3 separate regions of the Homo sapiens genome follow, and all the other regions are linked to region 3. Evidence: promoter capture Hi-C in human tissues and cell types (Jung and others, 2019). All regions are on one chromosome and are shown on one strand. The core of a region is centred on a gene start or on the middle of the fragment in contact, and the rest is flanking DNA. Distances in the headings are between cores, read along the strand shown.

Region 1 (3,269 bases), core at 211-2,710, 580 kb before region 3:
CAATAGTAACTTTCAGTATTTATACTGAATAGCTCTTTGCAACTAGCCTAAAAGAGTCCTTTATTTTTGTTCTTTTTTCTCTCTTATCTGTGGAGATTGAAAATATATAGCCATCCTTCAGAAAGCACTTCTTACTATACTCTTGGATGAAACTTTAATATTGAAGTTTTCAGTAACTCTAAAGTTAGAGCTTTTTTTCCCTTAAGAGCTTCGCTATGGAGGCTCTTCTCATTCACTTGAAATATAGATTGCATCAATTCTGCTCTAATATCAGTAGTTTACTATAATATATTTACATTAACATTTCTCTACTGATAATTTTTACAGTAGTTGAATACAATAAATAGCTCTTTTTTGGCCAGGCATGGTGGCTCACACCTTTAATCCTAGCACTTTGGGAGACAGGGGTGGATAGATCACCTGAGGTCAGGAGTTCAAGACCAGCCTGACCAACATGGTGAAACCCTGTCTCTACTAAAAATGCAAAAATTAGCTGGGCATGGTGGTGCACACCTGTAATCCCAGCTACTCGGGAGGCTGAGGCAGGAGAATTGTCTGAACCCGGGAGGTGGAGGTTGCAGTGAGCCGAGATCACGTCATTGTACTCCAGCCTGGGCAACAAGAGTGACACTCCCATCTCAAAAACAAAACAAAACAAACAAAAAAAACAAACAAAAAACTCTTTTTGACGAATGAGATTATTCGTAATTTTTGGTGTCTGCATTCAAGCATTATAAAGTAACAAATTGATGTGGAATACATTTGGCTTTTCAAGTCCTAAAGAGGAAGGGACTATATGAGTATAAAGAGAAACATTTTTTCTAATTAAATTATATATGGGTATAGATTTTTAGACTCTATCTCTAGAACATGTCATAGACCACCTTAAGAACTAAGATGAAGCTTGTTTTACAATCCATTCATTCTTTAATTGCTTTGAGAAGTTATACTTAACTTTCAATTTTTTGGGAAATAGATTTTTTCTCTTAAACTTGTCGAGTTAAAAGGTAATAGTTTTGCGATTTGATGGATCATTCCCTAACTTCAAAATTTTTTCATGATGTCAACAACCATCTCTTTAATATGACATATCATTGAGCTTTAGGCTTTGCTGATAATCTTTGAGGATACCTTATGAACTTCAAATATATTTTATAGAATATTTCTTTTTTTATGTGATGGTGCTAGTACATATTTGTTGTGTTGCTTAGTAGACGTATTAAGTGTTTCAGAATACACATAATTTATATTTGTTTGGCTTAATTCAACAGATACTTGAATACCTACCAAGTAGAAGGCACTATGCCAGCACTGCATAGCTTTCCTTGAAGAAGAGCAATTACTGCCCTTCAGGAGTGTATAATCTAGTAGGAGAAATAAAATATTTACATGAGTTTTACATGTAGGAAACTGAATGAAAAGTAAGTGTCAAAATAAATATAAACCAAGTACCATGGGTAAGGAGAAATCACTGGTTTGGGAATAATTGGGTAAAAGGTTTAATGAAAACAAGTTAGCGTTTTAGATGGGGCTTGAAGGCTTGTGTGCTGTATTATACACCGTCTCCATAGTATTCATTGTTATGGCTAATCATCCATAGTTTATCTTACTAAAAATAATCAAAATCTGATTTCCATCTTGCCTATTAGAGTGACAATAAAGTATAATTTGTTTCTTTTATCCAGTTGAGAAGTGATTATTTTGTTTATCTGTTTCTTCCAGGAAAACATTTAAAGTTGATGATATGTTATCAAAAGTAGAGAAAATGAAAGGAGAGCAAGAATCTCATAGGTAAGATAACCTATCAGTTTACATTAAGTGATATACTTTAGGAAAGAGGAAAAATTACAGTGATCATTTTCCTAGTGATCACCTTGATATAAGGAGTTAGAAGGAATCTTAGAGGTCAGTTTGGTCCAAACTCACACACAAGTCAGAAATTAATTTCTGTAGCATTCCTGGCAGAGAATACTTAAGCTGTGGCTTGAATACCTCCAGTGTAGTTGTATTTATTATTCTTTATCTTTATTACCAGTTTCTTCCATTTTGAGTGAAACCTCTGACTTCTGCCGTTGGTCTTAACTCTACCACCTCATTTAAAGAGGGATACTCACATTTATAGTATATGTGCTAGGTACTGTGGCAGGGACTTCACAATATCACGTATCTTGTAAGTTATTCTCAAATATGAGAGGGGTTCTCTTTTTTTCCATCTTTTTCTTCTCATTTAAATCTGTCAGGCAACATATTCATAACTTTTATTTCATATTTGAAATATGTTTCTCACATAGTTTCAGAAACTTGAACATTTGGACAGAATCTACTTATTGTACATTAGCAAATATATACCTAGAACGAATCCCTAAATGTTCTGACTAGTCTGATATCTGTCTACTCTAGATAGTATGCTTCTATTTATTTTTTGATATGTAAACTTTATTTTTTGATATTTTTGATAGAAAATTGAATATTCTAAGGAGAAACAGCAGCTTGGGTGGTGTTTGTTCATTCATTAACTACCTTTAGAGAGAATGCAGAACTAAAAATATTAGATTCTTAAAAAAATAGAGTTGGAAAATTTGTCACAGTGCATTTTTCTTTTCCTTCTAGTTTTAAATCACAGCTTACGAATTTAGATAGGATACACACTTAATGATGCATCATTTATGCATCTCATTGTTTTCCCATTGTTCTGTTAACTGGTAAAAGACTTCCTTTTTTTCAGTTTGGCTTCCTTCTACTTTAAGTTTGGCTTTGGAATTAAGTGATTTTTTTACTTGGATTGTAAAATGATATTTTTTATTTTATATCCTGCAATCTTGTGGGGTTGAAGTATAATTTATATTTCCATGTCTAGGCAGTCCTGACTTGTAAATAAACTGTGATAGTCCATTCTAGAAGCTGAGATCCTGAATTGTTACCTGGTACATCTGTTAATGCCCAGGGAGGACCCTATAAGATAGAACTGAGAATATTCGCAGTGCACACACATTTTTCTTTACTAGAATTTGTATTCCAGATTCTTGTCTGGTCTCCCACCCTAGACAGAGCTCTTGGGATCCTCAGGGCCTTTTTTACTTAAAATACAGACTGTAGTAAGATCCTGGTCTGACCTCCCTGCTTCTTTTCTCCTGACCACATTAAAAGTTTGCCCTATAGTCATTTCAGGGTTCAAGTGAGAAGGAAGCATGAACCAACAACAAGAACACTGGACCCTTCTCTTCATCTTCCTCATCAAGGTTTACCTTCACTACTAAACCCTATTACTA
Region 2 (3,373 bases), core at 591-3,090, 530 kb before region 3:
TCCGCCTCCCGGGTTCAAGCAGTTCTCTGCTTCAGCGTCCCAAGTAGCTAGGATTACAGGTGCCCGCCACCATACCCGGCTAAGTTTTCTATTTTTAATAGAGATGGGGTTTCACCATCTTGGCCAAGCTGGTCTTGAACTCCTGACCTTGTGATCCACCCACCTCGGCCTCCCAAAGTGCTGGGATTACAGGCGTGAGCCACTGCGTCCAGCCGGTAGGTGCTATTTTTAACATACCCATTTTATAAGTGAGGAAAATGAGGCACGAAAAGAAAAAAAGATTAAAAATAGCTAAATAACCTGATCCCGACTACCTGGCTGATGACTGGTGGAACCAGGACTCAAACACAGGCATTCTGACTCTAGAATCAATCAATCTATCTATCTATTTTTTTGAAATGGAGTTTCATCCTTGTTGCCCAGGCTGGAGTGCAATGGCGCGATCTCAGCTCACTGCAACCTCTGCCTCCCTGGTTCAAGCGATTCTCCTGCCTCAGCCTCCTGAGTAGCTGGGATTACAGGGATGCACCACCATGCCCGGCTAGTTTTGTATTTTTAGTAGAGACGGGGTTTCACCATGTTGGTCAGGCTGGTCTCGAACTCCTGACCTCAGGTGATCCGCCTGCCTCGGCTTCCCAAAGTGCTGGGATTAGAGGCGTGAGCCACCACACCTGGCCTAATTTTGTATTTGTAGTAGAGACACGGTTTCACCATGTTGCTCAGGCTGGTCTTGGAACTCCTGACCTCAGGTGATCCACCCTCCTTGGCCTCCCAAAGTGCTGGGATTACGGAGTGAGCCACCGTGCCCGGCCTAGAATCTATATTCTTAACCATTTGTAGCCATGATGGCACACTTCTATTTTATATTCTAGCTCTAGACACATAGAAGGTTTGTCATAGTTGACATTATAATTTATGTAACTATTGCTGCCAGCGCCTAAATCTTCCATATAAGAATTTGCAATGATTTGATTACTATTTGTTAAGTAAATAAAGCATTTAAAAAGAACTATTATAATCCTAAAAAATCCCATTATGGTTATGAAGACACTATTCAAGCATGAAGAACTTCCTATGTGGCAAGTTTAAGCTTTTCCTTTTGTGTTTTCATTTCAGATGTCAGTACTTTGTGTGCTCTTGAAATAGGAAATGTACAGATCCCTATTGCCAGACACATCATTCTCTCCATCCAGAAAGCCAACTTTGCAAGGACAAAAAAAAAAATTAGTGTGAAACAAAATGTGGCTTTTCCAAAGACAGATGTGATTATTTATAGTCAATGTGGCCTCAAAATGTCATTGATTGTGAAATAGCAAACATGCAGGATCATAATATTTGGGTAGGTTTCTGAAGTTATTTCATATCTGAGCAGTCTAAAGAAGTATGGGGAGGAGGGGCCGGGCATAGTGGCTCACACCTGTAATCCCAGCACTTTGGGAGGCCAAGGAGGGTGGATCACCTGAGGTCAGGAGTTCCAAGACCACCCTAGGCAACATGGTGAAACCCCGTATCTACAAAAAATACAAAAATTAGCTGGGTGTGGTAGTGGCTCCTGTAATCCTAGCTACTCAGGAGGCTGAGGTGAGAGGGTCACTTGAACCTGTGAGATGGCGATTGCAGTGAGCTGAGATCATGCCACTGCACTTCAACCTGGGCGACAGAGCGAGACCTTGTCTTAAACAAAAAGAGGGGGAGAGCTGGGGAGGGGAATGAGAAAGAAAATAGGCCGGGTGCAGTGGCTCACGCCTGTAATCCCAGCACTTTGGGAGGCCGAGGTGGGCGGATCACAAAGTCAGGAGATTGAGACCATCCTGGCTAACACGGTGAAACCCCGTCTCTACTAAAAATACAATAAATTAGCCGGGCGTGGTAGCAGGCGCCTGTAGTCCCAGCTACTCAGGAGGCTGAGGTGAGAGGGTCGCTTGAACCTGAGAGGTGGAGGTTGCAGTGAGCCGATTGTGCCATTGCATTCCAGCCTGGGCAACAGAATGAGACTTTGTCTCAAAAAAAAAAAAAGAAAAGAAAAGAAAAGAAAGAAGGAAACCTTAAAAAAAATCAGAAAATCTTAGAAGCAAGGAAAGAGCAGGAATGTTCACATAGGAAGTGAGGGAGACCTGGAAGGAGGGGGTTGCTAGCAGACCTGGGCATCTAATGAGAGTGGGTCTAGAGACTGTTAAAATCCAGCCAGTATCACAGGTTTCTCTGGCTTCAGCAGCTCCAAGCCTTCCAGAAGCTTCAGCAGGGACTGACTGGGATAAATAACAAAGTAGTGCCTTCTTTTTTTTTTTTTTTTTTTTTTTTTTGAGACAGCATCTCACTCTGTTGCCCCGGCTAGAGTACAGTGGCGTGATCTCGGCTCACTGCAACCTCCGCCTCCTGGGTTCAAGCGATTCTCCTGCCTCAGCCTCCTGAGTAGCTGGGATTACAGGCACACACCACCACGCCCGGCTAATTTTTGTATTTATAGTAGAGATGGGGTTTCACCATATTGGCCAGGCTGGTCTCGAACTCCTGACCTCGTGATCTGCCCACCTCAGCCTCCCAAAGTGCTGGGATTACAGGCGTGAGCCACCGTGCCCGGCTAACGTAGTGCCTTCAAGAGTATAGTCTCCCTTCTAACTACTAGGCCCTTAAGTACCCTCAAAAAACTAAATATTGTTTCTCTTGATTCAAGTAGGCGCACTTGCTCCTCCCTTATGCCCTTATGCATGGAGTCCCCCTTGCATTCACATCTCTGGCTTCACTGCTGATGCCTGAAATTCCTTTAAACAAGGGGAGAAAACATTTCATTCCACAAAGAAAAAAATGACAAAAATGCAAAAGGCTGGCTACCATTATATTGAGTTTAACTGAATTTCAGTTAATCACCCTGCCAAGTGGGGCCTGGTGATGCATCTTTAGGAGATGCAAGAGAGACTCAACAGTTTATTGAGACCTAATGTGTCTTTCACATCACGGTCAGCAGAGGTGAATTTAAATCAATTTGTATAATTTCCAATGTCTTAATAAATATTTACTGAATGGTCTAAGAAATAAACCTAACTATGCAATCTATCAGACATTACCATGTGTCCAAGGAGGAAGAATTTAAAAAGCAGGAGAGCATCAGATCAAGTGGTGAAAGGTCATAAGAGGTAAAAGTTAAAGAGCTAAGGACACAGTAATAGAGAAACTGTAGACTTCAACACTAACTAGAATCATGTTAACTCTCCCATGAAAAAGAAGCAATACAGACCAGTCTGGAGTCGAACTGCCTGGATTTAAACCCTAGTTTTGGCATTTACTAGCTGTGTGACACTGGGTAAATAACTTCTCTATGCCTCAGTTTCCTCATCCCTAAAATAAATAACCCATCTATCTCACTGGGTTACCA
Region 3 (3,308 bases), core at 587-3,086:
GAGTAGACTTAAAAGTTCAACAAAAGTTGCTGGGTTTTCTTTTAAAGCATCATTTATACCTAGCATTTTTTCTGATTTTGACATAATTGTAAAAAAAAATGTGTAATAAAATAGAAATAGAGCATCAGGATCTTGATGATTTGGGATGAAGTGGCAGGTTATAAGCATCTCAACAGATAATTGAAAATGTTGAATTTCCGCTTTGGCCCTGAGCTTGCTGGAAACTAGTACAAAAAGGAGACAAGTTATATTATACATTTTTTAAATCTACCAAATGATTGATTTAAATAGAAATGGCATATCTTAGAATTTAACAGTTCCATGTACTGCTAACCCAGCAGGAAAGATTTATAATCATTATTAAGGTATCTTATAATAATATACCAGTTTGTCTTGAGCTACTTTTGAAAGGAGTATTTTATTGTTAGCATTTATTTGAATGAACTAAAAGCAAAACTATATTGTTCTCCTGAGATTTACTAAATGAAATTGCCTGGTTAAGAACCCTACGTATGCTATAGAAATTCTTCTCAAATGTACTTAGGAGTCCTTTTATTTAAAAAAAAAAAAAAAAGGCAGATTCTTACCTAGCTAGTATAGGTAGGGCCTGAAAGTCTTTGTTTCCAAACCAACTCCTAAGCAACATGGATGCCACTGCTAGTCAGGCTTTTGAACATCAAGGTTTTATAAGAAATGGTTGTTATATGTCATTGGCTGACATTTGTATACTATTAAAATACAGAAATTGAAAATAAGAAATGTGATACGTTGAGTTATGCAAACAAAAGTAGCATGTAATAAACAATGCTAACTGGAGACTATATTTCATATTAATAGTAGGGAGGAAAAACTATTAAATATTCCAGGATTAAGATTACTTTTTAGATTATGACCTTTAGTAGACAATTAAAGGCCCAAGTCACTGGCTTTTGTATAATAGTGTTCAGCTTTAATTTTTAAGTTTAGTGACATAAATCTTTGGATATTTCATGATTCTTCCACAAAAAGAAATACTTGAAATTGGATTAGCAAGTAATTTCCATCTTTTTATACTAGACTGGACTTCTGTATTAGATGCTAGAATGATTTAAAGTAGATTATTCTTTTCACATTAGTTCATTAACAGTGTAGTATACATCATAGTATTGGTACACATTTTAACAGTGCTTACCACGGAACAGATAATAGGCCTGCTGTTGATTGTCTTCAGCCAGATGTACTGCAGTGCCCAAATAAACAAACTGTATGACAAAATGAGACTTTCTCTTGCCCTTACAAATGCCTGAGAATTGAGGACTGTTTTTACTCCAGTTTATGCCTTGGAGGCCAGGTTGTGTTATCAGAAGTTTTCTTATATCTGATCATTTTCAGTAGAATTTATTTTCAGTAGAATTTGTAATGTCCAAGCATTAGTAATGAGAAATTTATTTTTTAACTTTTGAAAAATAACAAAACATTTCCAGTTTACTTGAGGAAACCAAACTTAGATCCTTCGTAATCCTAATTTAAAACTCCATGGCGATGGCAAATTTTTTCATTTCTAACTTAAAATTTATGTAACAGGACAGAAAAAAAAAGTATACATTTTCAGTCACAATTCTAGTTTGTTAGTGAGATTCTTACACACTTTGATAGCATTTCCTCGAACACTAATCTGTCAGACGTTAGAAGTGAAAAGGCATAAGAAAAGCCGTATATATATGACCTACCTTACAAAATGCTTGGTCAAAATCTGATTATAACGTGATTTTGATAAACCACTTCTTTTCTTGTCTTCTTTTTAAAGCAGAATAGACTTGGAGAATATGAGCCTTAAAGTAAATCTGCAGTAAAAAAGGATATGTGCAGCTAGTTTTCCACTTTTAAAACCAAACCACAGATGACACATTTCCTTTCCACTGCAACTAAAGCACATGTCACAGGAGGGAAAAAAAAAAAAACAACGAAAAAGCTCCAACTTCTCTAGTTGGCCACTGGCATGACAGGAGGCTTTGTAGAACCAATCCCCGCCTCCAGAGCAGGGAGGGTTTTCCACTTAATGCCTTTTGACAGTATGCTCATTCTATAGGCCTGCTACATGCTTTAGTGTCATTCAAAAGAGGTTTTGAAATGGTATCTTCCATTTCAAATCTTCTCTAAAAGACTTATTTGAAATCTACAGACTGATTTGAAAATGTGAGTTTGGAGTCCATGGGATACTGATCAGATAATGTAACAATTGTGGAACTGCAGCAATTATTTGAGAAAATATCTAGTAAACTTAGATTATATGGGACAGAAAATGCTTTCGTGTGGTGTAGTGTGTGTATACACACACACACACACACACACACACACACACACAACTGTCAAACATCCTGTCATCACCTCAAGTTTAACATGACTGAAACAGACTTTAAGAACTAGGTATGGGCTGAACACGGTGGCTCACACCTGTAATCCCAGCACGTTGGGAGGGTTGACGCAGGCAGATCACTTGAGGCCAGGAGTTCAAGACCAGCCTGGCCAACATAGAGAAAACCTGTCTCTACTAAAAATATAAAAATTAACCAGGCAGGGTAGCATGCACCTGTAGTCCCACCTACTTGGGAGGCTGAGACAGGAGAATAGCTTGAACCCGGGACGTGGAGGCTGCAGAGATCATGAGATCTTGGCTGCATGAGCTAAGATCATGCCACTGCACTCCAGCCAGGAAGACAGAGTAAGACTCTGTCTCAAAAAAAAAAAAAAAAAAAAAAAAAAAAAAAAAAAGAACTGGATATGGCAGCACATATCTGTAATCCCAGCTACTAGGTAGGTTGAGGTAGGAGGATCACTGGTGGAGCCCAGGAGTTCAAATCCAGCCTGGGTAACATAGCAAGACTCCATCTCTTAAAAATTAATTAAATTAATGAAATAAAAAGAACTTTATTTTTTCTTTAAAGGAGGCTGCCTGTGACAGTCTTCTTGTTTCTGTTCATGATAGCAACATTCTAATATCAGAGGCTTAGTATACAACACATCATTTTAATTTAAGTCCTCTCAGTCCTGATCAGACTTTGAATCATGTTGGTCCTTCCTTCATATTGTTGGATCAGTTTCTTTTTCCCTGTTTTTACTGTCAACAGTACTATTTTAGATCCTTATCAGGTCATACCTAGACTCTACAGTGCCTTTTCGGTAGCCCTGAATCCTTCTTATATCTTGTATACATCACTGTCTTTGGTCATACCACCCTTTCTTTAAGGGAAAATAAAACCGGTTGAACAGTTCCCTAATACATACAACAATGATTCAGAAATGTTTGTGTACATAAACATCAGATGAGA

What was found. Contacts are between HindIII fragments. The study calls those that stand out against the background at their distance.
Region 1: a fragment that was not itself captured here is called in contact with the fragment with the promoter of EVI2A in region 3 in 1 of the 25 tissues and cell types used here (lymphoblastoid cells).
Region 2: a fragment that was not itself captured here is called in contact with the fragment with the promoter of EVI2A in region 3 in 1 of the 25 tissues and cell types used here (aorta).

What each region holds. Positions count from the first base shown.
Region 1 is chr17:30,741,579-30,744,847 of GRCh38, forward strand. It overlaps the pseudogene SUZ12P1. Among named protein-coding and RNA genes, the nearest start is that of CRLF3, 81 kb to the right of the region's middle. The HindIII fragment of the contact is 6,485 bases long and covers 1-3,269 here.
Region 2 is chr17:30,786,323-30,789,695 of GRCh38, forward strand. The region is part of intron 6 of CRLF3 (cytokine receptor like factor 3); the gene reads right to left. It also overlaps the pseudogene SUZ12P1. Among named protein-coding and RNA genes, the nearest start is that of CRLF3, 37 kb to the right of the region's middle. The HindIII fragment of the contact is 4,601 bases long and covers 1-3,373 here.
Region 3 is chr17:31,319,786-31,323,093 of GRCh38, forward strand. It overlaps EVI2A (ecotropic viral integration site 2A), which reads right to left and starts at 1,837. Exons shown (of 2, transcript NM_014210.4): 1 at 1,710-1,837. All of the region lies in intron 36 of NF1 (neurofibromin 1), which reads left to right. The HindIII fragment of the contact is 10,482 bases long and covers 1-3,308 here.